2 separate regions of the Homo sapiens genome follow, and region 2 is linked to region 1. The links are contacts of gene promoters, found by promoter capture Hi-C in blood cells and fetal thymus (Javierre and others, 2016). All regions are on one chromosome and are shown on one strand. Each heading gives the region's core, a stretch centred on a gene start or on the middle of the fragment in contact. The rest is flanking DNA. Distances are from core to core; before and after follow the strand shown. Region 1 holds the start of SLC22A14 (solute carrier family 22 member 14). Region 2 overlaps CTDSPL (CTD small phosphatase like).

The links. Contacts are between HindIII fragments. The CHiCAGO score rates a contact against its expected background, and 5 or more counts as called.
Region 2: a fragment that was not itself captured here is called in contact with the fragment with the promoter of SLC22A14 in region 1 in 1 of 17 cell types (neutrophils); the score reaches 5.2 in neutrophils.

What each region holds. Positions count from the first base shown.
Region 1 is chr3:38,279,117-38,283,871 of GRCh38, forward strand. It overlaps SLC22A14 (solute carrier family 22 member 14), which reads left to right and starts at 3,178. Exons shown (of 11, transcript NM_001320033.2): 1 at 3,178-3,223. The HindIII fragment of the contact is 3,768 bases long and covers 2,740-4,755 here.
Region 2 is chr3:37,976,754-37,981,584 of GRCh38, forward strand. CTDSPL (CTD small phosphatase like) reads left to right here. Exons shown (of 8, transcript NM_001008392.2): 8 at 3,989-4,831. The coding sequence ends at 4,114. Among named protein-coding and RNA genes, the nearest start is that of MIR26A1, 9.8 kb to the left of the region's middle. The HindIII fragment of the contact is 4,458 bases long and covers 1-4,392 here.

The DNA of each region.
Region 1 (4,755 bases), core at 1,928-4,427:
CCAGCATGGAAGTGTTCAGCACCTGTCTTCCAAACACATGGATATTCCTCACTCACGATTCTCAGCTTTGAAGTGCTAGACAAAAGCTCTATTTAGCTTCCTACTGTGTGCCCATTCATGGCATCCTCTTGGGGAATACTAGCAAGTCTTTCTGGGCACAATGTGTCTCTCAGGCTGAAACTGCCAAGGGGTGCGGAAAACCAGATAGAAGTGGGGAAAGGGCCATTTCCCAGCTAAAGGCAGTTTCCTCCTCTAAGATATGGACACTTGCTCCCTTTAAGACGGAATGATTGTCATTCCCAGGAAGAGACCTGAATGGCCAAGACTGGCTAATTTTTGTATTTTTGGTAGAGATGGGGTTTTGCCAAGTTGGCCAGGCTGGTCTCAAACTCCTGAACTCGTGATCCGCCCACCTCGGCCTCCCAAAGTATTGGGATTACAGGCATGAGCCACCATGCCTGGTCCCTGGAGACTTTTTCTTTCCTTTTTGGGGGGATTATGGTTGGTTGGGGAGAAAGATTTTTTTTTTTTTCTGTGTGTATTTAAAAGTGTCCTGTGGTTTGCTCTGATGAATGGGTAAGTGTCCTTTAGCAGTCACTGATGGGAGGTTGGCTGCTGAGGCCTCTGGGACTCTGAAGGAGAAGATATGCAGCTTCACTGGACCCTGGTTGTGTATCTCCTTGATTTTGCTCCTCAAAGGTTACGGCAATGGTGACTATCAGTCCTAAACATTTAGTCCAGGTGTGTGAAAGCGAAACTGTGCCCCAAACAGTTAAAGACACCAATGACTAACAGAAATTCTTGAGTTTGCAGGATGGTAGGTAAGCAAAGAAACAACTTGCTGAGATGCTGAAAGTCCCTCCACTTGTAAGACAACAAAGCTGGCTAAAATAGGTTGGAACCAATGTGGCCAACTAGAGTCTGTGCAGTACCTGCTTGCTGACATCACAGCCTGAATTTCCACTGCGTGTTTCATACTCACTCCCCCCGTACCTGCCCATGTGATCTATGAGGTGTCATGAAGAGAACTGCGCATGCTGGAGGACTTTCCAGGCCTCCTCTTTCCTTCCACTAATCACCTGCTAATCTCAGAATCCCGACACCTTTTCTAATAAAAACACTGCCTTAGCACCAGCCCAGGGAGACAGATTCAAGCTGGACTCCTGTCTCCGTGTCGGCCGGCCTATAATTACAAGCTTTTCTTTTCTCAAAAACCCGGTGTCATCATATTGGCTTCTAGCACATTGAACAGCAAGCCCCTTTCTGCCTAGAAACAATCTGACCCTCATATTTACTAGTTTTCTCAACCTGTAACCAAGGGAAACAAAAATGACCTCCTAAATTTTTAACAAAGGCAATCAACATTTGTAGCTGGTATGAATATTTGTTCTGTAAACTCATATCTGCAGGCAACAGAATGTTTCTTTAGCCTATGAGCCTCCATCTTGCTGAGCTGATTGGAAATTCATCTCAGCTGTTATTGGGGCTCTTCTCAACCCAGAGAGTTCTGGGATCTTTTTTTTTTTTTTTGAAAAGGAGTCTCAGTTTGTCACCCAGGCTGGAGTGCAGTGGTGCAATTCTCTGCTCACCGCAACTTCTGCCTCCTGGGTTCAAGCGATTCTCTTGCCTCAGCTTCCCGAGTAACTGGGATTACAGGTGTGCGCCACTGCGCCAGGCTAATTTTTGTATTTTTAGTAGAGACAGGGTTTTGCCATGTTGGCCAGGCTGGTCTTGAACTCCTGACCTCAGGTGATCCGTCTGCCTCAGCCTCCCAAAGTGCTGGGATTACAGGCGTGAGCCACCATGCCCAGCCGAGTTCTGGGATCTTATGTAACCAAAACAAACCAAAACAAAGGGGTGCTCCCACCCTGCTCTTCAGTCTCACTGATGGCTTCTGGGTGCTCACTGTGCTGTCTGCTTGGTCCCTTTGACCCCCAGAGTGCTGCTGCTCAAGAGTGGGGAACTCTAGGGGGGATGAGGGGCCTAGGACCAACCACTGAGGTGACCTGCAGACACCCCGAGGGAGGTCTGGTGAAAGAGGAAGGATCTGATGCCCCAGATACCAATAAGATTGCAGTGCCCTGCCCCCAAACAAGTGAAGATTGAGCCATAGGAAACTGCAAAAGAGCTGTAAGTAGGTTTCCCTGTGATCAATACTTCATTTTTTTTCAAATATATGAAATTCTTTTAATTTTTTTTTGTGTCTTAAGTGTCTGTGTTAGTCCATTTTCTGTTGCTTATAACAGACTGCTTGAAACTGAGTTATTTATAAAGAAAAGAAATTTATTTCTTACAGTTCTGGAGGCTGGGAAGTCCAAGGTTTAGGGAATACATCTGGTAAGGGCCTTCTTGCTGTTGGGAACTCTGCAGTCTCCCAAGGGGGCACAGGTGAGGGAACCGAGCAAGCTAGCTTGTCTTTCTTCCTCTTGTTATAAAGTCACCAGTCCCATTCTCATAACTCATTAACCCATTAATCTACTAATCCATGATTGGTGATTCATGGATTAACAGATTACACTCATGACCCAATTACATCTTAAAGGCCCCATCACGCTACCACACTGGAGATGAAGTTTCAACATGAGTTTTGGAGAGGACAAATATTAAGCCATAGCAATGCTCTAATTTTGTTGAGGTCCTAAGTACATGCTGTACTGGTACAAGGATGGTCTGCCTTGTACTAGGCCCTGTGCTGGTTTTCCTGTCCTGCCACTTTGGCCTCCCTTCCCCCAAGCATGAAGCTTGAAGCCCTGTTCCTGCAATCTGGCAGAGGAGGCTTCTAGCTTATGGGGGAGATGGGTCAGACCCCGGCAGCTCTGACCAAGGCTGGTTGGCAGGGGAGTGTCACGGAGAGACAGAGCAGAAGTGAGTGGGGTAGGGCCAAGCCATTTCCAGCTGTGGGCTCAGGAAGGCTTGAAGGATAGTTGATAAATGAGTGATATCTGGAAGGACAGGAGAATTTCCGAGAGTGGAGGTGGAGCCCTCGTGTGGAGGAAACAGCCTGCACAAAGACAGGGGCAGGGGGGTTCGTGTGGCAGTTTTCCTGACCTGCCTTGCCCCTGGAGGCTACAGCCAGTTGTGTCCCTGGAGTAGAATGCTGACCCTCACCATTCCCAGCTCACCCCAAGGACCTCCCCACCCCATTGTGACACTACTTCCTGGACACCAGTGGAGCTCAAAGGTTCTGCTTCCAAGGGTCTGGCTGGGCCTGGATTGTGGTCAGGTGGGCCCTGGCTTTGGCTTGCGGTCCTGCCTACAGGGAGGCAGGGCCGGGAGGGTGTGGAGAGTAGAAATTATGATGACCCCTGGCAATTTTGCGGCCGCGTTCTCAGCACAGGTGTGGACAGGAGCCTGCCTGGGCCTGTTTGGCTGTGGGGAATCTGTGGAAGGAGCGGGCTGCCCTCCCAGAAAGCGTGAGTTCTCAGGTGTGGCGTCTGGCCATCTCCTGCGGCAGGTGGAGTGCTCCTCCTGGCTATGCTTCTCCCAGGCCTCAGTTACCTCTTTGGCACATTGAGAGCCAATTGCCTGGGGCCTGTCCACCTGGCAGAGGACCTTTGGGATGAGTAGAGGGAGTGAGTGCTCCAGGGTATTGGGGTATCAGGTGGTGCTGGGGGATGCTGAAGCGGTCCCTGCAGAGGGAGGCTGGTACAGATGGCTCTGGTCCAGAAGCCACATCTCTGAGAGGACAGCGGAGGCTCTCCCTCCCTGGAAAGTCTCCTTTATCCACCTCCACCCTCTCCAGCCTTACACACATACATCCTGTATTGGTTTCCTATTGCTGCTATAACAAATGCCCACACTTAGTGGCTTGAAACAGCAGAGACTTATTACCTTATGGTTTTGGAGGTCAGAAGAACAAATGGGCCTCAGCAGGCTAAGATCAAGGTCTCAGAAGGATTGCCTTCCTTTCTGGAGGCTCTAGGGCAGAGCTCATTTCCTTCCTTGCCTTTTCCAGCTTCTAGAGCCTCCTGCATTCCTTGGCTCTGGGACCCCTTGCATCTTCAAAGCCACCGACGGCTGCCCAAATCTTTATCACGCTGCATTTCTTTGGGTCTTATGCATTTAAGGATCCTGGGATTAATGGGACCTACCTGACAATCCAGGATAATCTATTTTAAAGTCAGCTAAGTAGTAACCTTAACTTCATCTGTAACTTTAACCCCCCTTGCCATGTAAGGAAACATATTTACGAGTTCTGAGGATTAGGCATAGATCTCTCCGGGGGGCGCTTATGCAGCCTCCCCCACCTCCCAGCACACACACATCTAAGCATGCTCTCCCTCTGTGTTCCCTGCCTCTTATGCACCTCCAAATTCTGCTGAGATAAGGGATCCCGAACTCAGGGCCAGGCAGGAGGCAAAGACAAGTGAAATGGGGAAATGGTGCTGGGCTCTGCTGGGCCTCCTGCATGCACACATCAGAAGTAGCAGGAGCCGGGTGCAGTGGCTCACGCCTGTAATCCCAGCACTTTGGGAGGCCGAGGCGGGAAGATCACTTGAGGTCAGGAGTTCGAGACCAGCCTGGCCAACATGGTGAAACCCCATCTCTACTAAAAATACAAAAATTAGCCAGGCGTGGTGGCTTGCACCTGTAGTACCAGCTACTCGGGAGGCTGAGCCAGTAGAATCACTTGAACCCAGGAAGCAGAGGGTGCAGTAAGCCGAGATCACACCACTACATTCCAGCCTGGGTGACAGACCGAGATTCTGTCTCACAAACAAACAACAACAACAACAATAATAACAAAAAACAGAG
Region 2 (4,831 bases), core at 914-3,413, 300 kb before region 1:
TGGACCATGGCAGCTCTCGGTGCCTACTCACTGGGTGCAGCACAACTCTCAGGGCAAGAAGGACTGCCTTCCTGCCTGCTGCCTGACACTTCCAGGGGAAAAGAGGCCAACCAGGGCCTCTGGTGACTGCTGACCCCTCAGTCTCTGCCACATCAGGCCCCTAGACCAGGCATTTTTCCCTGGAGAGGATGCTTCCTCTCAAGCACAGGCTTCTCAGATTCTACAAAAGCCTGCAAAGTCCTTTCCTTGAATCCAGAACTCTGCAGTCTCGCTTATAACCAAAAAAAATTCAAACTCAATTAATTTGGCTAGTGTGGAATCATTATTTGAATAAATACTCCAAATGTATTTCTATGTAAATGTGTTCATTTTACTGAGTAAATCAAATTCAACATAATATATTTGGTAACGTGTCTCTAACAGATAAGGATTGCTTTTTAATATAATCACAAGTCACGGTCAGATCTGACAAAGTAACAGTTTCTTACATTGTCTAATATCCAGACTGTGTTCATATTGTCCCTATCATCTCGAAGTGTTGTGCATTTGGAGTATTTCAATCGGGATCCAAAAAGATCCATGCATTGCTTTGGTTACTATGTCTCTTCATTCTTTTGCAATCTTAACACGTCTCCCTTTCCTCCCCTTTTCTCTTTTATGCCATTTATTTGTTGAAGAAGCCCTGGTGTTTTGTCTTGTAGAAATCTCCTACATTCTGGATTTGTCCAGCTGCTGTCTTGTGATGATGTTTAATATGTTCTTATAGCCACCTTATATCCTCTAAACAAGTAATTAGAGCTCTACTGCTTGATTAGATTCGATTTTTTTTTTTTTTGCAAGAATATATCATAGAGGCCAGATGCAATGGCTCACACCTATAATCCCAGCACTTTGGGAGGCCCAGGCAGGTGATCACTTGAGCCCAAGAGTTTGAGACCAGCCTGGGCAACATGGCAAGACCCCATCTCTTAAAAAAAAAAAAATTAGCCAGACGGGGTGGCAGACACCTGTGGTTCCACTGTCGTTCCAGCTACTTGGGAGGCTGAGGTGGGAGGATCTCTTGAGCCCAGGAGGTCGAGGCTGCAGTGAGCCATGTTCATGCCACTGCACTTCAGCCTGAGTGACAGAGCAAGACCCTATCCCAAAAAAAAGAAGAAAAAAATAATACATCATGGGTATTATACGCTTATGAAGATATCATATCAAGGAGGCATAAAATGTCAGGTTAGCCCACTTTTAAAGATTTAAAATTCATCATTGGGTTCAGGTGGTGTTAGCCTGATCCATCTATTATAAAATTCTCCCATGAACCTTTCACCTCATAATTTTAGCAGTTGTTGGTGATCATTGTCTACACCCACTATTTCATGAGGAATTGCAAAATGGCAATTTCTATTTTCAGACTAATGAGTTGGTGTTCTAGCGGCCTCCAAAAGTAGCCAATAATTTTTTTTTAGTATCATTATGAACTCATGGATTTGTTGTAGTTTCAGTCCATTTATTATTCTTTTGCATGCTCTAATTTTCACCTTTGGCTATGGACACTAATAACAAGTCTTTGATATAGGTTGAATATTCTTTATCTAAAATGCTTGGTACCAGAAGTGTCTTGGATTTTGGATTTTTTAGGATTTTGGAATATTTGCATATACATAATTGGATATCTTGGGGATGGAACCAAGTCTAAACATGAAATTCATTTCTGTTTTATGTACAGCTTATACACATAGCCTAAAGGTAATTTTATACAATATTTTTTATAATTTGGGGACACTAAATAAACTGTGTATCATGTGCCTGTGTTTTCACTACCACCTGGCACACGAGGTCAAGTGTAGAATTTTCCACTTGTGGTGCCATTGCTCAAAAAATTTTGGATTTTGAGGCATTTCGGGACTCAGATTTTTCAGATTAGGGATGCTCAACCTGTAGCTTCCTTACTTTCTTAAACAACAAGATGTTCCAGGCTCATGATGAACATTTCTTGCCTCAGCCCTGGAACCAGCCATTTTTGTATGGTGCCTGGTCCCTATTAGTGGAAGTGGTATTTAGAGACCACAGTTTAGGTGGATTTTCATTGCTAATGGGATATACTTTACTTCTAGCCCATACTACAGGGCAGAGCTAAAAATGACATATTTTTAGAAAGAAAACTAAATCATAAGTTCATACTGGTTTTTCCAATACAACGTTACGTTTTTATGTAACTTCTTTGCTTGTTTTGTTTTTGTATCCCTTTCTCTTATGCTGCAACTCTTGATTTCTAAAGATATTAACATAATTATATAATTGATCTGTAGTGTATGTTTAATAATTTCAGTAGCGGTACTAAATTATGGCTAATAATAAGACAACTCTATGCAGTTTAGGAATTTTTAGAGAGATGTACAGTTATAACACCATGTTTTAAAATCACTTGAATGCCAGGCTTGGTGGCTTACCTGGCTGCTTGCAATCCCAGCACTTTGGGAGGCTGAGGAGGGAGGATTACTTGAGCTTAGGAGTTTGAAACCAGCCTGGACAACAAAGCAAGATCCTGTCGCTACTAAAAAAAAAAGAAAAAAAAAAGGCTGGGGTGGTGGCTCATGCCTGTAATCCTAGCACTTTGGGAGGCCGAGGTGGGTGGATCACCTGAGGTCAGGATTTCAAGACCAGCCTGACCAACATGGTGAAACCCTGTCTCTACTAAAATACAAAAACTAGCTGGGCATGGCGGCAGGTGCCTGTAATCCCAGCTACTCAGGAGGCTGAGGCAGGAGAACCCAGGAGTTGGAGGTTGCAGTGAGCTAAGATCACACCATTGCACTCCAGCCTGGGCAACAAGAGCAAAACTCCATCTCAAAAAAAGAAAAGAAAAAAAATTAGCCAAGCGTGGTGCCACATGCCTATAGTCCCAGCTACTTGGGAGGCTGAGGTGGAAGGATCACTTGAGCCCAGGAGGTCAAGGCTACAGAGCTATGATTGCCACTGCACTCAAGCCTGGGTGACAGAGTGTGACGCTGTGTCACACACACACACACAAATCACTTGAAGTAATTGTGTGGTTGTGTCACCAATTTTATATACACTTAGATTCACTTTTATTGCTTTTTTTCTTAATGGTTTAATTGTATTTTAATTATATAACACATTTACATGGTTCCGACATCAAAACTATAAATAAAGACAGAGAAGTGTGTCCATTTCTGCCCTCTCCTCCACTCTCTCCCCATCCCCTAGGCGTAGTCATTTCTTTATTAGTCCTTACTTTATTTTTCAAAGTTACGTAATAAATGTCTATGTTTCTAAGCTATCTTTAGATTTGTAAAAGGGCTAAAATGTTACTTTTAAACATGTTTGGTTTATTCAAATTTGTTTATAAATCTCTCCTTTGTACCCCTGGCTACCACCCCTCCCCACTCCTCTGCCTAAAACTAAGGGAAAATCCTGTCTTTGCCCATAGCTTCAGAATGTTCTGCAATTTTAGACTTTTACTTTTAACTGATCACTGTTAAGCAAGGGAGGAAATTTACCACTTCTCTTTGTGATGTAATATTGCACAGTGACCCTAAGTGGAAGCCTTCCTGTGTCCTGGATGTGAGCTCCGCGCTGTCAGTGGTTGGCTTGTAAGCTCTGGCTCCAAGTGTTCTGAGGTGCAAGGAACCGATCTTGTGCAGTAGAAAGAGCTTTTGGAAGTTGGCAAGTAGCAAGGCTAGTTCTCATACATTCTATGCTCTGGCCACCTTTTTCTGTGGCAGGAAAACAAAACAGGCAAATGCACACAAACTGGGTACATTTAACTTTGCCTCCCTGAGCCATCTCCCAAGCCATTTAGCTTTGGATTGGCCTCAATTTGAACAAGGGAACAAACAAAATCATGATGATAACGATGATGACACCAGTCGTCCTTACTAAAGAAAGTGCTCAAAGTCCGGGTACCCGGTTAGGTTAGGAGCAGCCCCCAGCGCTAGATGCAGTCCTGCTGCCTCCTCCATGCACTGTCTTCCAGGTGCCTGTGCAGTCCTGGTTCGATGACATGACGGACACGGAGCTGCTGGACCTCATCCCCTTCTTTGAGGGCCTGAGCCGGGAGGACGACGTGTACAGCATGCTGCACAGACTCTGCAATAGGTAGCCCTGGCCTCTGCCTGCCTCCCGCCTGTGCACTCTGGAACCTCTGGCCTCAGGGGACCTGCCTGTCCTCAGCTCCCTGGGAGCTGAAAGTGAGGATACTCCGTGCTCCAGGCCACAGGGTGAATGTGGCCATGCCTACCTGTTTTGTTTTTTTAAGAACAGAAACAACTATTTTAAAAGAACTCTTTTAAGAAATTTCATAAAGGGACATGCATTTTACTGGGTTTGCTTTTCTTAAAACATACCAAAAAAGAAAAAAATAGAAAAAAAAAAAAAAAAAGCTTGATCTCTATCAGACTTCCTTTCAACTGTCCTCCCCTCCAAGCAGACCACCTGTCCCCTTCTATCCCAGCTCAGAGCAGCTGACCCAACTCAGAATCTCTTTCCTACAGGATGAAGTGCCTTTTGAATGTTATTTTAAGCCGAGAGTTAATTTTTCTACACAACATATTTCCAGACATCTTTTAGTCTTTTATTGTCTTAGATACTATAAGAAGATGAACATGACAATTTTCTAGAACCTGGTAGCGTGTGTGTGTGTGGCGGGGGGTGCTGAGGGAGGGGAGTGAGTCACAGGAGCCTGTCCCCCAACAGGTGTGACTGCTCTGACAACCTGTGGCATGCTGCAGGGTCAGGCTCCTGATAGGAGGATTTCATGACTATGTCATTGTCTCCACTCATTTTTGACCCAGTTTGGAATGTATCTGCAATTGTGTGG